Linked DNA regions of Homo sapiens: regions 2, 3 and 4 are each linked to region 1. Evidence: promoter capture Hi-C in 16 types of primary human blood cells and fetal thymus (Javierre and others, 2016). All regions are on one chromosome and are shown on one strand. The core of a region is centred on a gene start or on the middle of the fragment in contact, and the rest is flanking DNA. Distances in the headings are between cores, read along the strand shown.

Region 1 (2,700 bases), core at 150-2,649:
TTACTTTTACCTTACTTCTAATCTTAAATCATTCAATCACAGCTCTACTATACTTCTTTGCAGAGTAAAGCAAAGGAAAATAAAGATCAATTAGAAAAGTTAAGTAAGCTAATAAATTCCATATAATAATTATAGCTACAGCTAATCATGCAATTTATGCTTACCTAAAGACCCTGTCATTGCTCTACATTTTTGTCAGCACTTGGGGGGTTGGGAGGAGACCTTGTCTACACACTGTAGATTATCCATTATTTTTTGCCTCCAATAAACCTGAAAGAAACTACAGGAATATATGCTCGCCATTACATGGCACCTTTTTATCTCAAAGTGCTTTCTAGAACCACCTTCACTAAACCACATCTGACAAGAAATCTGGCAAGAAACACTTTGACCAATCCCTGTTTCAAAATACACAAACTCAACCTCCCTCCTTCTGCCCCCTTCCCCTGAAAATGGGCGTTCTAAAGTCAGACTTCCTGGGTTCCAATTCTCTCAAGGCCCACTTAATAAGGGACCTTGAGCAGTCTCGATTTCCTTCCCTGTGAAATGGAAATACCAGTATCTACTTCATGGGACTGTTGTAGGAATGAACTGAGATAATTCATGGTAAGGCGCTTAGAACACTGTCTGGCACAAAATGTGCACTCAAATGCCAGCCATTATTATATCTTCAAAATTAACTACCTACAGTCCGGGTTTTCTTCATTTTAGTGATGGGAGTCTAACCGAACTCCATCAGGACAAGTGGGCATACACACAGGGTTTTTTAATTAACTCATACAATAAATAGCAGCAGTATATACTCAAGCAAATTTTAAGTTTTCATAGCACTTTCGCACTTTTTCAATAAAAACATTTCATATGAAATAAACACTCCAATCCCCCACGCTTTTAATCAGCGATGTCCAGAGCCCAGTAAACAACACAAAGCCTGGAAATACAGTCGGGATACTCATTGGCTATGGAAGGGGGAACCTGACAAACTGCTGGATGCCACACTGAGAACCCGCAGTTCAAAGCAGGCCAGAGCCGCTCGGGGCTAGCGGCTACAGTCTATTTAAAGTCACAACGCCTTCTTTTCCCATTTTCCTCCCCAGTGTTGAAACTAACAACGCCCTTTGCTCCCAAGACGAGGCCTAGCATCTCCCGGTCCTCTCCTCCCACCCAGCGCGTCTCTCCCCCAGGGAATCCACTGCCGCCCAACTCACAGAGTGTGTCCGCACACATTCACCATCAGCTTCAAGGAGGGGTTCCGATATTTGGTGGTCTTACACCGAGGGCAACCCTGATCGTCCATGGCGGTTTCCCTCCTACAGACTCTCGCAGGCGCCTGTTTCAGCCAGAGCCACCTACAAGCCCCCTCAGACGCGACCAAGCAGGTTCCTACCAACAGGCGCTTGGCAGAGACGGTCCCTTCGCGAAAGAGCACCGGCAAGGGGCGAGGCGCTGCAACACAAACGTTCCGGCAGTCAGTTCCCCCGGTCTTGCATCTAGGGCTTGGTCTTAGCCTTCCATAAAGCAACTTAATACCTTGAATTTGACAGGGGAACTTTTAAAATGGCAAATTATACAAAGCCTTATCTCCACGCACCCAGTTGCATTTTTCAAGGTACTGTGTCACAATTAGGAAGATAAATTCCATCTTGTTCTGTCTGGAAACATTCCCATGATTTCAAAGATTTATGAGCGGTGTACTTACTTTCTTTTGGACCATTTAATAGCCTGTGCTTTATACTTCTTTATAATTGCATAGTCATGTCAGCTCAGCTGATAATATGCATTCGCAGATACAAAATATGAAAAAGCTATCTACTCCATCAGACAGTATTTATTTCCCCAAATACCTAGGAAAAAATCATATAAGAATACATACAGAAAAATTTAGTTCTGCAATTCCAAGATCTGATAGCCTGAATATCTTTGTAAATTGTAAACCATGTTCATCACATTTATCAAGAAGGCAAATTGAAGTCTGTAAACAGCTCTATTAAATAATAAGCTTTCCCACTGTAAAGGACACATCTTATTCATCTCCAAAATAAAGATTTGTTGATTCTTAATGAGTAAGTAGACTAAGTGAAGAATTAATGAATGACTATCAAACAATAGTGTAATGTGAAAATTTTTAGTGTCAAACATTTTTTGTAACCACCTTCATCTGACCCAAACTCCATCAGAAGGGAACATGCAAACTAGATTTTTCAAATAATCTGATACAATGAGTATAAGCTATAAACATTTATAGTAATTTTAACTCATCATAGAACTTGTGTTCTTTTCAATAAAAAGTAATATTCAATTCACATTTTTAAACAGTGAACCTGGTAGGGAACCCAAAACCCAAAAATACAGTTGGGATTTCCATGGGTATAGAGAGGGATGCTGACAAACAGCTGGATACCACACCCAGGAACCAGCAGATCAAAGCAGGCTGTGACAGAGCTTTACATTAGTATGAAGACATCAAGGATTCATCTAATAAATAAACCATATCATCTCTTTGATCATAATATTGTTCCTCAACAGGAGTTAACCAAACATAAACTTACTAAAATAGGTAACACCAAATACTATGCTACTATGCTGACCCGGAGGCTTATTATGCTGCTGCTATTGTCTTATTGAAAGACCACATCCAGACCAGTTACATGATTCAGAGTGAAGCTCTTCAAGAACAAAGGCAACTCTAGTACTTTATAT
Region 2 (2,700 bases), core at 99-2,598, 200 kb before region 1:
TGTGACTTTCCCTTGGTGTTAAGAGCACAAATAAAATCACTGGGACAAAACATCTTACCCGCTACTTTGTTTGCTTCAAAACATCAGAAAACCAAGTAGTCTTCCTTAAAGATAAACTGAATTTTTATTTCAATAATTAGGAAATAAATGCTACACTGAACTAAATGCCAAAATTATACGGAAGAACGGCAATACAACAATTTATCATTGTGTCGATATGCCTAATTGATCAAATTAGAAGAAGAAAAAAAGGAGAGAAAGGAAAGGTAGAAAATCTCAATAGACCTAAAATCAGTATAATACAAATAGATTCTAAGGGACCGGACTTTCTATATTATACTTCAATATTCTACCAGTCAGTATTCTAGGCTCTTCCATATATTACCTCATTTAGTACTCAAAACAACCCCATTAGATATCTCCATTTCATAAAGGAGGAAACAAAGACACAGAATGTTAGGTAGGTTACCTGCCTAGGGTTATAAACCAAGCAAAACAGCCAAGATTTGAACTCAGGCAATATAATTCCAAAAATTCTCTCAACTCCTACACTGTACTGCATATTATTATTATTTACAAAGTGATTCATATATCTTCAAAGTTTTGTTTTTAAGATTATGGTTATATTTATCAAATCAAATTTTCTGAAAATGTAACACAGTATACACCAAATTATGATGCAAAAACACTGATATTTAGCTATTCAGAAATAAGTATGATCTCTAACACATAGCTTTAAAAATGATAAATCCTAGAGCACAGGATAAGAAATAGATAACAACTGTATGGTCATCTATTATGTTTAACTATTGGGAATTAATGTCAGTAGTGCAGAATAAAATTCTTACCTGGCATTCAGTATGAGATATATAAATATATAAAAACAGTTAAAAATAGTTTTCTAAAGTGGTAAACTAAAATCTATCTAACATTTAAAGAATAAAGAAAAGAAAAAAACAGAGCTGAAATACCTGCACACTCCACGTAAGACAGTTTCTTGAACTATATTAATCATTATTTAACCATGTCTTTAAAGGAGGGAAAAAACCTCCAAATTTTCTAAAAATGGAAACCTCTTTTAAAAAAATGAAATGAAATGCTGTACTAAGTGGAATTACAGTTCTGGAATGCAAGTGTTAATTATTTTATGATGAACCAACAATGAACACCTATAGCATAATTTAAGGCTGCTGTAGTTTTACAAGGATAGAAGAAAAACTAAATATTATTCTCTAAAAAAGTGATTTTATACTACAAATGAAACAAAAATTTAAGAAATATGAGCGAATTAAAAACTAGTATGTCAGTCTTATTTTAGACTAAACTTACATAAGAAAAAAGATAACAGAACTCTAATGTAACCTAATATATAGGTTTGTACAAGCAAAAATTAAAGACATATACTAGAAAACTTGATAATATAAAATTGATTAAAACTAACATCCTTATAATATGAAGTTTTTATCAGAAAAAATTAGTAAGAGTAAGAAGTATGAATATTCTAGAAATGGCAAATATTTACACACAAACTTAATTCAATGGACAAATAACACACTTAATTCTCAAAATGACTGAATTAAAAAATTTAAAAAGTAGGCTCAGTATCTAAGGGAGTATATAATTAATTCACCATTGTTTTTTTAAAAAAAAACTTTGAGGATGTTTTTAAAATCTTCTACCTTGACAATTAAGCAGCTCTTTTCAGAGTGTCAAAGGTTATAGATATATACACACACACCATATATATACACACATATATATATATGCATTAAAGTAAGTAGTACTATTCTCCCACACTGACTAAATCAAAAATATTAAGGGTCTTACATATTAAATATACAATTCAGGTCTACGATATGTATCTACAGACATATTTTTGAAATAAGAAAAAAGTTAGAGAAATATGAATAAAAAACATTTCAAGTTACACCCAGTGCTGCAATGGGCTTTGTTATCACAGAATCTTTTACAGTCTACCTATTTTGGTCCAGCCCAGCTGCTGTGGCAAGTGGTAGTGGTGAATCAGAAGGAAGCGGCAGCTGCACATACTCTCTGGCAGCAGAATAAATGCAGTCCCTGTCCCCAATTATTTCTCTCCCTGGCCTTTCCCTGACACAGGCAACAAAAGTGAGTAGTGAGAAAGCAAGCCTGAGCAGCTGCCTTAATCATTCAGATCCCTGCTGCAGCTCTCACACAAAGACTTGTGTCTAAGTGGCATATTCTATAGGCTGTGCAAAACTCTGAAGGAAGCCTGAACCCTATGAAAGTCATCACAGAGCCATCCAGACACTCAAGCCAAAAACCTTGGAATTTTCCTAGACTCATTCCTTACCCTGCACCTGAAGTCAGTGGCCAAGTCCTTTCAATTCTATCCCTTCAGTCTCAAATCCATTCCCTCAACTCCATCCTCACTGCTTACAACTCTCTTATTTTGGCACTTTATTTTACTTCAGGCTTCTCAAATACATGATCCATACTGCTGCCTTCAGAAGTATTTTTTCTAAAATATAAATCTGAATATCTCAATTATTTAAACGTCTTCCATAGCTACCTATTACTAAGAGTGTATGGTTCAGAGCCTAGTTACTGAGATAGCAGTGGTTTTCAACCTTGATTTAAGACACACAGGAACAAAAAGGGGGAAAGGAGTATTACTCAAAATACTTAATATGATAAATAAGATTCTTCATGATTTGATCC
Region 3 (2,700 bases), core at 200-2,699, 220 kb before region 1:
ACACATTCTTCTTGAGTGCAAAGAACATTTTACAAAATAAATCATACGTTAGCCCAGAAACCAAATCTTAACACATTTAGTAAGACTGAAATCATATTGAGTAATTTTTATAACCACAATGATATGAAACTAGAAATCAGTAACAGAAGAAAAACTAGAAAATTCACAAACGTGGAAATTAAACAACACACTCATGAACAATCAATGGTTCAAGAAGAAATCAAAAGGGAAGTTTTGATTCTCAAGAAAAATATCTTAAGAATAATGAAAAAGTAAACATAACACACCAAAATTTATGGTATGTAGCCAAAGCAGTCCTGAGAAATTTATACTAATAAAAGACAATACTTAAAAAGAAAAAAAATCTCAAATAACCTGATATTACACTTTAAAGAACTAGTTAGTGTAAGGAAGCCCAAAGTTACAGTCAGGATGGAAATAAAGATCAGAGTAGAAATAAAATAGAGATTAGACATACAATAGAAAGAAAAAAAATCAATGAAACTAAAAGTTGGTTTTTTTAAAAACATAAAACTCACAAACCTTTAGCTAGATTAACTAAGAAAAAAGAAAGAAGACTCAAATACATAAAATTAGAAATGAAGGAGGAGATATTACAATTGAGGCCACATAGGTATGAAAAAAATCACTAAACAATTATACACCAATAAATTGGAGAACTCAGAAAAAATGGATAAATTCCTAGACACAGACAACCTACCAAGACTGAATTATAAAGCAATAAAAATTGTAAACAAACCAATAGAAAGTAAGGAGATTGAATCTTTTATTTATTTATTTATTTAGAGACAGAGTTTTGTTCTTGTTGCCCAGGTTTGAGTGCAATGGTGCGATCTTGGCTCACTGCAACCTCCGCCTCCTGGGTTCAAGCAATTATCTTGCCTCAGTCTCCCAGTAGCTGGGATTACAGGCACCCACCACCACGCCCAGCTGATTTTTGTATTTTTAGTAGAGATGGGGTTTCACCATGTTGGCCAGGCTGGTCTTCAACTCCTGACCTCAGGTGACTCACCTGTCTCGGCCTCCCAAAGTGCTGGGATTACAGGTGTGAGCCACCACACCTGGCCTGAATCTATAATTTTTTTTTTAATGTCATTAAAGAAAAGCTTAGAACCTGATGGCTTCATTGCTGAATTCTCCTAAATGTTCAAAAAAGAATTAATACCAATCCTTCTTCAAATTTTTCTAAAAACTGAAAAGGAGACAATACTTCCAAGCTTATTTTATGAGGCCTGCATTACCCTAATACAAAAGCCAAACAAGGATATTAAAGAAAAGAACTATTACAGTCTAATATCTATAATGAACACAGATGTAAAAATCTTCAACAAAATATTAGCAAACCAAAATCAACAGCATATTAAAAGAATCAATACACTATGATCAAGTAGGATTTGTCACAGGGATGCAACATATGGAAATCTATGAAAATGATACACCACATTAACATAATGTACAAAAACCATATGATCATCTCAATAAATATAAAAAAAGCATTTAACAAAATTCAACGTCCTTTCATGATAAAAACTATCAACAAATTACATATAGAAGGAATGTACCTCAACACAATAAAGGCCATATATATATAAAATACGATAGCTAACATCACACTAAACTGTTAAAAGTTGAAAGCTTTTCCTTTAAAATTAGGAATAAGCCAAGAATGCCCACTCTTGCCATTTCTGTTCAACATAATACTGGAAGTTATAGCCAGAGCAATTAGGCAAAAGAAGAAATAGGAAAAGTTACATTGTCTCTGTTTGCAGATAACATGATCTTATTTATAGAAAACCCTAACAACTCCACCAAAAAACTGTTGAAACTAATTGATTCAGTAAAGCTTCAGCATGCAAAATCAGCATACAGAAATTAGTAGCACCTCCATACACTAACAAGGAGCTGTCTGAAGAAGAAATCAAGAAAACAATCCCATTTACAATAGCTACCAAAACAAACAAAAACAAAACAAAAAACCCCAACAATTTAAAAACAAATTTAACCAAGGAGGTGAAGATCTATACACTGAAAACTATAAAACTCTGATGAAAGACATTGGAGACAAAAGTAAATGAAAAAATATTCCTTATTCATGGAATGGAAGAATTAACATTGATAAAATGTCCATAAAATCCAAAGTGATCAACAGATTCAATGATTCCATCACTGAATTCTAATCACATTTTTCTATCAAAATTCTTATGACATTTTTCACAGAAATAGAGAAAAGAATCCTAAAATTCATGTGGAATAACAAAAGACCTTGAATAGGCAAATAAAGCTTAAGGAAATGAACAAAGAGGCATGTAAATATCACCTGATCTCAAAGTATACTACAAAGCTAAAGTAATCAAAACAGCCTGGTACTGGCATAAAAACAGTATACACCAATGGAACAGAACAGAGAACCTAGAAAGGGGCTAATATACAAAATATATAAAGAACACAAACAACTCGATAGCAAGAAAACAAATAACCTGATTAAAAAATGGGCAAATGACTGGAATAGACATTTCTCAAAGGAAGACATACAAATGGCCAAAAGGTATGTGAAAAAACTTTAACATCACTAATCACCAGGCAAAACAAATTAAAATCACAATGAGGTATCACCTCACACCTGTTAGGATGGCTACTATGAAAAAGGCAATATATAACAAGGGTTCGCAAGGGTGTGGA
Region 4 (2,700 bases), core at 60-2,559, 170 kb before region 1:
CCCCAAGACTTTCTGTAAAACTAACATATAAACTTAAGGTCGGGCACAGTGGCCCACGCCTGTAATCCCAGCACTTTGGGAGGCCAAGGCGGGTGGATCACAAGGTCAGGAGTTCAAGACCAGCCTGGCCAATATGGTGAAACCCCATCTCTACTAAAAAATACAAAAATCAGTCAGATGTGGTGGCGGGTGCCTGCAGTCCCCGCTACTCGGGAGGCTGAGGCAGGAGAATTGCTTGAACGTGGGAGGCAGAAGTTGCAGTAGGCCAAGATTGTGCCACTGCACTCCAGCCAGGCGACAGAGAGAAACTCCATCAAAAAGAAAAAAAAAAAAAAAAAAAAACTTACATGGGTAGCATCAAAAACAAAACAAAACTTAAATGAAACAACTACGTTTTCACCATTCTTACACAATCCATATATAATAAGTCAATATTATAAGGTAAAGACGAAGGTAAAGACTATGACCAAAAAGCAGTATACAGAATGCCACATTCTCTCATGGAAATTTTGGAATATAAGTAACACTTTCATATGTAAAAATTCTAAGTGATTTCCAGAAAAAAGCACAATCACAGTGAAAGCAGATTATACAAATATTCTATATCGTGGCTGTGCTGGTGGTTACAAACTGGATGTGTTTGTCAAAACTCATTGGAATATACAATAAAATAGGTATTTTATTGTATGTGAATTATGCTTTCATATAGCTGATTAAATTTAAATTTCTTAAGTGTTAAGATTTTTAAAGTATTATAGATTGCCTCAATTATTTTTCACTGGTAGAACGTAAACTAATCCATTTAAAACAAATTTCCTGAACTTGAAGTTTTCAGCTGAAATTCTACCTTTCCCAAACGCTATTTTAGGTAGGTAGCTATCTAGGAATATAGGAAGTACTTGCTATTGAAAAAATTTTTAATAATATTATACACCATTAGGTTCAAAAACTACATCAATAGATGCATAAAAGCATTCAATAAAATTAAATGTGAAGACGAAGATTTAATATATATTCATGATGCAATTCCTTCATTGTGATTTAGAAAATACATATATGTGATACAAAAAAACACTTAAACAGCGAATATAATACTTAATGATGAAACACTTGAGGCATTCACCAGAAAAAAAAACAGAAAGAAACTACAGTTATTAGAATTATACTTGGTCTAAAAGTTCTACAAGTTCTAGCCAAAATACAATAAAATATAAACCTAAAGTCACAAATATAGCATTGAAAAGAAAAAAAATTTTTTTTCAGCTGACTGACTCCTAGATAAAAACCCAGATATTCACCTAATAGAACTAGGTATAGAAACTATTAGAATTCAGTAAAATATTATGTAGAAAATTACATTTAATAGTTTTCATATATAACAGCAAGAACCAGTTAGAAAGCATGATGAAAACTTTATCACAACAGCATCAAAAGTAGAATATAATGAAAATTAATTTCCAAGAAATGTGTGATATATATAAAAACTAAGTATATTTTAAATGCCCATTCTTCTCTGATCAGATTGTAAGTTTAAATTCCAGGTACAATCCCAAAAGGATTGGTGTTTGATTACTATATAGGGGGATGGATGTATCTTATTAGCTAAGTTGTTGGTGGCTTTTGATGTTTCATTACTTGATTCACAGTATTTTATAAAAATTTTCAAATGTACACAAATTTTGAAACAATTATGGAGTGCTTTGTTGCTTTTGCCAACAAAGTTTACTTCAAAGTATAAATGTATAAAAATGCTTAGAATATTTTGAGAAAGATAAGTAGCAAGAGAAAACCTATCTCGCTTGTAGTAGGCAGAATTTAGACATGGCCCTCAATATTCTACCCCGTTGTATCCATTCCTTGCATAATTCTCAGTCCTTGGGTATAAATAGGACCATCAATTTGACAGTCTTCATTGCTGTGATTATATTATATATAAAAAATGATTTTGCAAATGTAGTTAAAATCCCAAATAAATAGATTATGTATTAATGAAAAATGATAATGATCCTCTGGGCCATCGGCTAGTCCTAATCTTTTTGCTGATGAAAGCTCTTGCCTGGATGTTGATATCTGCTTTACTGATCACAATGGTGGTTGCTGAAGACTGGGGAGGTCATAGCAATTTCTTAAAATAAGACAATAATAAAGTTTGCTGCGTTGATTGACTCTTCCTTTCACAAAAGATTTCTCTGTAGCACATAATGCTGTTTAATAGCATTTTACTTACAGCAGAACTTCTTTAAAAATTAGAGGCAATCCTCTCAAACCCTATCACTGCTTTATCAGCTCAGTTTATATAATATTCTAAATCTTTTGTTGTCATTTCAACAATGTTCACAGCATCTTCACCAGGAGCAGATTCCATCTCAAGAAACCACTTTCTTTACTCATCCCTGAGAGTCAGTTTCTCATTTGTTCAAGTTTTATTATAAGACTGTAGTAATTCAGTCATATCTTCAGTCTCCACGGCTAATTCTAGTTTTCTTGCTATTTTCACCCCATTTGCGGTTACTTCTTCCAACAAAATCTCAAACATGGGGTTGGAATTAACTTCTTTCAAATTCCTGATAATGCTGATATTCTGACCTCCTCCCATGGATCACAAATATTCCTAATGCACAAATATTCCTAATGGCTTCTAGAGTAATGAATTGTTTCCAGAAGGTTTTCAATTTGTTTCATCCAGATCCATCAGAGGAA

The links. Contacts are between HindIII fragments. The CHiCAGO score rates a contact against its expected background, and 5 or more counts as called.
Region 2: a contact is called between a fragment that was not itself captured here and the fragment with the promoter of MNAT1 in region 1, in 1 of 17 cell types (endothelial precursors). The highest score is 5.4, in endothelial precursors.
Region 3: a contact is called between a fragment that was not itself captured here and the fragment with the promoter of MNAT1 in region 1, in 1 of 17 cell types (endothelial precursors). The highest score is 7.9, in endothelial precursors.
Region 4: a fragment that was not itself captured here is called in contact with the fragment with the promoter of MNAT1 in region 1 in 1 of 17 cell types (endothelial precursors); the score reaches 5.2 in endothelial precursors.

What each region holds. Positions count from the first base shown.
Region 1 is chr14:60,733,460-60,736,159 of GRCh38, reverse strand. It overlaps MNAT1 (MNAT1 component of CDK activating kinase), which reads right to left and starts at 1,399. Exons shown (of 8, transcript NM_002431.4): 1 at 1,209-1,399. The coding sequence starts at 1,297. RefSeq lists enhancers at 1,106-1,175, 1,286-1,385. The HindIII fragment of the contact is 2,495 bases long and covers 1-2,001 here.
Region 2 is chr14:60,930,802-60,933,501 of GRCh38, reverse strand. All of the region lies in intron 7 of MNAT1 (MNAT1 component of CDK activating kinase), which reads right to left. Among named protein-coding and RNA genes, the nearest start is that of TRMT5, 49 kb to the left of the region's middle. The HindIII fragment of the contact is 3,764 bases long and covers 1-2,700 here.
Region 3 is chr14:60,953,768-60,956,467 of GRCh38, reverse strand. The region is part of intron 7 of MNAT1 (MNAT1 component of CDK activating kinase); the gene reads right to left. Among named protein-coding and RNA genes, the nearest start is that of TRMT5, 26 kb to the left of the region's middle. The HindIII fragment of the contact is 418 bases long and covers 1,241-1,658 here.
Region 4 is chr14:60,901,508-60,904,207 of GRCh38, reverse strand. All of the region lies in intron 7 of MNAT1 (MNAT1 component of CDK activating kinase), which reads right to left. Among named protein-coding and RNA genes, the nearest start is that of TRMT5, 78 kb to the left of the region's middle. The HindIII fragment of the contact is 4,594 bases long and covers 1-2,700 here.